Regions from separate parts of the Homo sapiens genome. Here region 1 is linked to region 2. Evidence: promoter capture Hi-C in human tissues and cell types (Jung and others, 2019). All regions are on one chromosome and are shown on one strand. The core of a region is centred on a gene start or on the middle of the fragment in contact, and the rest is flanking DNA. Distances in the headings are between cores, read along the strand shown.

Region 1 (4,292 bases), core at 1,660-4,159, 520 kb after region 2:
TCAGCCTGCAGCTGCACTGTGGGAGCCTCTCTCTGGGATGGCCGAGGCTGGGGCTGGCTCCCTCTGCTTGCGGGGTGGTGTGGAGGGAGAGGCACGGGCAGGAACCAGGGCTGCATGTGGCACTCGTGGGCCAGCGTGAGTTCCGAGTGGGTGTGGGCTCAGCAGGCCCTGCACTTGGAGTGGCCGGCCGGCACCGCCGGCCCTGGGCAATGAGGGGCTTAGCACCTGGGCCAGCAGCTGCAGAAGGTGTGCCGGGTCCCCCAGCGCTGCCGACCCACCTCCGCTGCACTCAAATTCTCGCTGGGCCTCGGCCGCCTCCCCATGGGGCAGGGCTTGGGACCTGCAGCCCACCATGCCTAAGCCCCCGACAGTGGGCTCCCACATAGCCGGAGCCTCCCTGATGGGCACCGCCCCCTGCTCCATGGCTCCCGGTCCCATCGACTGCCCAAGGGCTGAGGAGTGCGGGCGCATGGCGCGGGACCGGCAGGCAGCTCCACCTGCGGCCCCAGAGCGGGACCCACTGGGTGAAACCAGCTGCACTCCTGAGTCTAGTGGGGACTTGGAGATCCTTTATGTCTAGCTAGGGGATTGTAAACACACCAATCAGCACTCTGTGTCTAGCTCAGGGTTTGTGGATGCACCAATCGGCACTCTCTATCTAGCTAATCTGGTGGGGACTTGGATAACCTTTATGTCTAGCTAAGGGATTGTGAATACACCAATCAGCACTCTGTATCTAGCTCAAGGTTTGTAAATGCACCAATCAGCACTGTGTGTCTAGCTCAGAGTTTGTAAATACACCAATCAGCACTCTGTATCTAGCTAATCTAGTGGGGACATGGAGAACTTTTGTGTCTAGCTCAGGGATTGTAAATACACCAATCAGCACCCTGTCAAAATGGACCAATCAGCTCTGTTTAAAACAGACCAATCGGCTCTCTGTAAAATGGACCAATCAGCAGGATGTGGGTGGGGCCAGATAAGAGAATAAAAGCAGGCTGCTGGAGCCAGCAGTGGCAACCGGCTCAGGTCCCCTTCCACACTGTGGAAGCTTTGTTCTTTCACTCTTTGCAATAAATCTTGCTACTGCTCACTGTTTGGTCCACACTGCCTTTATGAGCTGTAACACTCACCACAAAGGTCTATAGATTCACTCCTGATGCCATCGAGACCACGAACCTACCGGGAGGAATGAACAACTCCAGACATGCCGCCTTAAGAGCTGTAACCCTCACCACAAAGGTCTGCAGCTTCACTCCTAAGCCAGCGAGACCACAAACCCACCAGAAGGAAGAAACTCCAAACACATCCAAACATCAGAAGGAACGAACTCTGGACATGCCGCCTTTAAGAACTGTGACAGTCAGGCCAGGCGTTGTGGCTCATGCCTGTAATCCCAGCACTTTGGGAGGCCAACGTGGGTGGATCAAGAGGTCAGGAGATCAAGAACATCCTGGCTAACACAGTGGAACCCCATCTCTACTAAAAATAGAAAAAAATTAGCTAGGCGTGGTGGCACACACCTGTAGTCCCAGCTACTCGGGAGGCTGAGACAGGAGAATCGCTTGAACCCAGAAGGCAGAGGTGGCAGTGAGCCGAGATCGCGCCACTGTACTCCATCCTGGGTGACAGAGCGAGACTCTGTCTCAAAAAAAAAGAACTGTAACAGTCACCGCGAGGGTCTGCGGCTTCATTCTTAAAGTCAGTGAGACCAAGAACCCACCAATTCCGGACACAATCTCACACCTGTCAGAATGGCCATTGTCAAAAAAATGAAAAATATCAAGTGTTGGCAGGATGCGGAGAAAAGGAAACCCTTGTACACTGTTAACAGGAATGTAAATTAGTACAGACATTATGGACAACATTATAGAGGCACCTCAAAAAATTAGAATAGAATTAACCTATGACCCAGCAATCCCACTTCTGGGTATTTACTCAAAAGATTGAAACCAGTATGTTGAAGAGATGTCTGCACTCCTATGTTCATTGCATCGACTATTCACAATAGCCAAGTTGTGGAATCAGCCTAACTTTCCATCAACAAATGAATGGATAAAGAAAATGTGTGTTTAGTTATGTACAATGGAATACTATTCAGCCCTTAAAAAGAAATTCATCCTGCTCAACCTGGTCCTAATGCTGCCCTGGCTGCTCAGCTGACCTCCTTTTACCTTCTGATACCTGGATATCCCTCTCCTGTTCAGCCCCACAGTTCCCAACAATTTGGTTCCTGCTCCATGATCAGCATTTTCAATAAACCAGACACTCCAGAGAAAAAAAAAAAAAGAAAGAAATTCAGTCAGTTGTGACAACATGGGTGAAACTGAAGAACATTATCCTAAATTAAAATAAGTCTACACAGAAAGACAAATACCATATGTTCTCACTTACATGTAGAATCTAAAACAATCAAACTCATAGAAGCAGAATTAGAATGGTGGTTACCAGAGGCTGGAGTGTTGGGGGAAATGGGGAGATGATTGTAAAGGGTACAAAGCCTCAGACTAGAAGGATAAGATTTTTTCAAGATCTATTAACACAATGTGGTGAATATAGTTAATAATAGTATATTGTGCACTTCAAAATCACTAAGAGTAGATTTCAAATGTTCTCACCACAAAAAAATAAGTATTTGAGATTATGAATATGTTAATTTGGTTGATTTGATTATTCCAATCAAATCATAAATTATAACATCACTTTGTACCCCATAAATATATACAACAAGCTCGACACAGTGGCTCCTGCCCATAACCCCAGCACTTTGGAAGACTGAGGCAGGAGGATTGCTTGAGCCCAGGAGTTCAAGACCAGCCTGGGCAACATAGTGAGACATTGTCTCTACAAAAAAAAAAAAAAAAAAAAAACACAAAATTAGTCGGGTGTGGTGGTGCCCACCTGTAATTCCAGCTACTCAGGAGGCTGAGGGGGGAGGATTGCTTGAGCCCAGGAGATCGAGGCTAGTGTGAGCCAAGATCATGCCACTGCACTCCAGCCTGGGTGACAGAGCAAGACCCCAAGTCAAAAAAAAACCTATATATAGTTATAGTTTACAAAACTATATATATAGTTATATATAGTTATAGTTTACAAAACTATATATAGTTATATATATAGTTATAGTTTACAAAACTATATATAGTTATATATAGTTATAGTTTACAAAACTATATATAGTTATATATATAGTTATAGTTTACAAAACTATATATAGTTATATATATAGTTTACAAAACTGTATATATAGTTATATATAGTTTACAAAACTGTATATATAGTTATATATAGTTTACAAAATTGTATATATAGTTATATATATGGTTTACAAAACTATATATAGTTATATATATGGTTTACAAAACTGTATATATAGTTATATATATGGTTTACAAAACTGTATATATAGTTATATATATGGTTTACAAAACTATATATGTAACATATACAAGTTATAGTTGCATATATATATATAGATACACACACAACTATAACTTGTCGAAAATGAATTTTTTTTAAAAAGCCCAAAAAATGGCTCAATATAAACAAATCCCAGTGTAGAAAATGCCTCAGTTCCCCGAGATTTACAATAATGATCACAGCCCCCAACTGTCCCATCCTTAATTTTCTCAAGTTTATATGTTTAGGCAACTTAGGGCACTATGAATGGGAAGGACAATTCTACAAGGAAAAGTTGGAATGCTATTATTAGATGTGAAATATACTGATGAGCAGACCTAAACAACTGCTGTTCACTACCTCCCAACCCTTGACTATTCCATGCATATACTCTCTCCTTTCTGTTCATAAATATGTTTAATGCCTTGGTCTAACATCACAAAAAGTACTTACCTACTCCTTAAAGGGAGACAATCGAAAGTCAGCTCCGACTCCTTCAACTGGCTACAAGTATAAAATCTCTAAATGAGCTCTATCTGTATATTACCAATAAATACTGTGAAAAAAGTGGTTAATTATATCATAAACCAACATACCCTATATAAAACAATAAAAGAAATAAAAAATAAATGCTTGAAAAATATTAATGCTACAACACAATGATTAGGAAAATACAGGTAGCTTTATTTGTGCTGTTCATTATAAGCCCGTAATAGCTGACTTGCGTTAACAATCCTCCTCTATTATGCATTTCATACTTTTGTGTTTAGCCAATACCACAAATAAGCTGTGTTCTTTATGTAAAACTTCATTTCTGTGTGATATTAGCTTTTGAGAGAACTGCCTGGGCAGGCTTTACATTTTCCCATCTTTTGGACTTTAATGGCTCCCAT
Region 2 (4,037 bases), core at 1,416-3,915:
GCAATCTGTAGGACTGTTTCTCAGACCTGGGACATGACCACATAACTACTTGGCTGGCTTGGGTATGCCCACCAGGGGTGGCCCATGGGCTGTTTCTCAGGTTTGGGAAATGGGCTCTCGGCAGCTGGGCCAGCGTGGTGTCAAGCCCAGCAGGGGAGCTTGTGAGTCTGTTTCTCAAGCTCTTATTGGGAGTATAGGGCCACTGAGCAGGCCATGGATGTGTCTCTGGAGGGAGAGAGTGTTACAGGGCTATTTCTCAGGTACTCAGTGTGGACACATAGCCACTGTGCTGCCACAGGGGCATATAAACTGTGTCAAGCTCAGTGACCTGTCTCCTACTTGGTGAACTTTAAAATATTCTACTATTTTTTCCTTGTTTATTTTTTATCATTTGATATTTTCCCAATCATGATACCACATCTAAGATGTATGCAGCACTATACCATGTTTATGCTTTCCAAATTACCGATTTCTGCTTTCATCTTTATCAATAGATTTATTTTTAATTTTGAAATGCTTTTTTTTCAAATTTCATTAAATCCAATCATGATATGAGTATCATAATCACATGTTGTGCCTAGTTTGCATTTTCCTGCTTTGTTTTTGCAAATCTTGTGCACCTTTGTTTTATCTGTATCTTTTGGACACTAGATTAGTTGGAAGTTTTGTTCTTGATCCATAAGTAAGATTAATATTTCAGACTCTTGTTTGTTCCGGTAATCTTGGAACACAACAGTTCCTGGTATTTCCTTAAGGGAAGTGTAAGGAAGATTATAGTGATTAGCAGGTACAGCAATAAATTTGTGTTCAGGAAAACTTTACTCTTTTCTTTTGGGGTCCCTGCCATAAGGAAATACTTACTGCCCTTAGGGCAAACAGATAAAACTGGTAAGATCTCAGAATGGCTCATAGAGAAACCACATAGCTCACATGCTTCAAGTTTGATGGCATAAGTAGCATTTTTTCCTATGGTTGGCCTTTCCCCTCTCCCCTTCCATATAGCATTGCTTACAGGAAGGTTAGGATTTTAAGAGAGAATAATAGAAAATAAGTTTCCAAGCCGTCCTTTCTCCAGAACTACCCTCCACAGTGTTCTGAATGCATACAGGGTCACTGTTCAAATGTTGCTGCTTCTCCTGTTGTCTTCTCATAACAAGGACTTTTTCAGTCAAAGTAAAGAAACTGGCCGGGTGCAGTGGCTCATGCCTGTAATCCCAGCAGTTTGGGAGGCTGAGGCGGGCGGATCACGAGGTCAGGAGATTGAGACCATCCTGGCTAACACGGTGAAACCCCGTCTCTACTAAAAATACAAAAAATTAGCCGGGCGTGGTGGCAGGCACCTGTAGTCCCAGCTACTTGGGAAGCTGAGGCAGGAGAATGGCATGAACCTGGGAGGCACAGCTTGCAGTGAGCCGAGATGGTGCCACTGCACTCCAGCCTGGGCGACAGAGCGAGACTCTGTCTCAAAAACAAACAAACAAAAAAAACAAAACAAACAAACAAACAAACAAAAAACCTTCCTTGGATTTTTCAAGAAGTTTTCACAATTGCAAAAAAACAAAACAAAACAACACAACACAACAAAACAAAACAAAAGCAAAAAAACCCTATGCTTCCACCCAAGGTAAAAATTTTAGCTTTAGGTCCACTCTCAATACATTATTTAATGAACTGAAGTTGGCAAATATTCCTCACAGCCTGTTGGAGGGTTCAGCAGTTTATTACAGAAGTATGAAATGCTTTTATTTAAAAAATGTATTTTGGTAAATACATTTTTGTTTAGGTAAATATCATCAAATAATCCAATTTGGAAACCAACATTCTTACTTCTTTTTCCAACAGTTGTTCCTATCATCATAAAAACATGTTAAATTTTTCTCATCCTTTCAAAAAATCTCTGGAGCTTACCTCACCCTCCAGATACAGCCTCACCTCTCATTCCACCATGAAATCAGACTTCTTGAGATGGTTTCAGCTGGACTCCATCCTTCAACTGACAACCCAACACAACTGTATTCATCTCTCGTTAACATTACTAGCAGTGAGTAACATCAGAAAGTTTTTGACACATGTTAGTCTTTTTTGTGATGAACTTCACAGATACATTTGACATTGGTATGCCTCATTTATTTGTTGAAATTTTTTTCTTTGGCTTCCATGAAGTTTCTTTCTCTTCTGTATCATTCTACTTCTATGACTGCTCCTTCTCGAGTAAAACAGAATGTGTCTCAGGATTACTTTAAAACAAGACAAAGTATAGAGTTATACCTAAAATTTAGTATTTAAGTTATTGGATCAGAAAGGAAACTCGCATTTAGAGTATGAAGGCATTGTCAGCCACCAATTACTTTTGTAACCTGAAGCTAGTCTCCTTCCTACTCCGGACTGAATTTCTTCTGTATAATGCAAGCGATCTGGCATGATGATATACAAAGACCGATAAAATTTTGCTGGGGATTCTGAAAGTAAAAAAAATTGCCTTTGATATTATGTCCCCATGCTAAGTCCCTGGGGACTTTGACATTATCCCCCACTGAGCAGGGGTGAGGAAGCTGGCATTTACTAATAAGCTATGAAAGGGCAGTGCCTTTTGACATTTCAGCTCCACCCATAGCACACCCACTCAAGGAACATATAAATGAAGAGATCCGCTCAGTTCTCAGACAAGATTTTTCAAGCAAGATGAAGTCCATCATCCTCTTTGTCCTTTCCCTGCTCCTTATCTTGGAGAAGCAAGCAGCTGTGATGGGACAAAAAGGTGAGTGGAGAGGGTAAGCCTTGGGGAAAGCTACTTTAAAAAAATGGCCTCTAAGGATATTCAGGGTGCAAACAGTAACCTGTTCAGGCACAGATTCTTCTCCTTGATGAGAATTGATTTTTCTCCACCCAACGCTGTAGGCTTTTGGAAATATCAGAAATTTGTTGGGAAAAGGTGGGAGGTAAGAGTTGCAAGAGAGCTTTGGAGATAATGAATGCATACATTTCTATTATCAATTACCAGGTGGATCAAAAGGCCAATTGCCAAGCGGATCTTCCCAATTTCCACATGGACAAAAGGGCCAGCACTATTTTGGACAAAAAGACCAACAACATACTAAATCCAAAGGCAGTTTTTCTATTCAACACACATATCATGTAGACATCAATGATCATGACTGGACCCGAAAAAGTCAGCAATATGATTTGAATGCCCTACATAAGGCGACAAAATCAAAACAACACCTAGGTGGAAGTCAACAACTGCTCAATTATAAACAAGAAGGCAGAGACCATGATAAATCAAAAGGTCATTTTCACATGATAGTTATACATCATAAAGGAGGCCAAGCTCATCATGGGACACAAAATCCTTCTCAAGATCAGGGGAATAGCCCATCTGGAAAGGGATTATCCAGTCAATGTTCAAACACAGAAAAAAGGCTATGGGTTCATGGACTAAGTAAAGAACAAGCTTCAGCCTCTGGTGCACAAAAAGGTAGAACACAAGGTGGATCCCAAAGCAGTTATGTTCTCCAAACTGAAGAACTAGTAGTTAACAAACAACAACGTGAGACTAAAAATTCTCATCAAAATAAAGGGCATTACCAAAATGTGGTTGACGTGAGAGAGGAACATTCAAGTAAACTACAAACTTCACTCCATCCTGCACATCAAGACAGACTCCAACATGGACCCAAAGACATTTTTACTACCCAAGATGAGCTCCTAGTATATAACAAGAATCAACACCAGACAAAAAATCTCAGTCAAGATCAAGAGCATGGCCGGAAGGCACATAAAATATCATACCCGTCTTCACGTACAGAAGAAAGACAACTTCACCATGGAGAAAAGAGTGTACAGAAAGATGTATCCAAAGGCAGCATTTCTATCCAAACTGAAGAGAAAATACATGGCAAGTCTCAAAACCAGGTAACAATTCATAGTCAAGATCAAGAGCATGGCCATAAGGAAAATAAAATATCATACCAATCTTCAAGTACAGAAGAAAGACATCTCAACTGTGGAGAAAAGGGCATCCAGAAAGGTGTATCCAA

Evidence for each region. The method cuts DNA at HindIII sites, captures the fragments that hold promoters and counts their contacts. A contact is called where the count stands out against the background at its distance.
Region 1: a contact is called between a fragment that was not itself captured here and the fragment with the promoter of SEMG2 in region 2, in 1 of the 25 tissues and cell types used here (mesenchymal stem cells).

Annotation. Positions count from the first base shown.
Region 1 is chr20:45,735,812-45,740,103 of GRCh38, forward strand. No RefSeq gene overlaps it. Among named protein-coding and RNA genes, the nearest start is that of SPINT4, 16 kb to the left of the region's middle. The HindIII fragment of the contact is 5,137 bases long and covers 342-4,292 here.
Region 2 is chr20:45,218,708-45,222,744 of GRCh38, forward strand. SEMG2 (semenogelin 2) reads left to right here and starts at 2,666. Exons shown (of 3, transcript NM_003008.3): 1 at 2,666-2,758; 2 at 3,002-4,037. The coding sequence starts at 2,683. The HindIII fragment of the contact is 14,800 bases long and covers 1-4,037 here.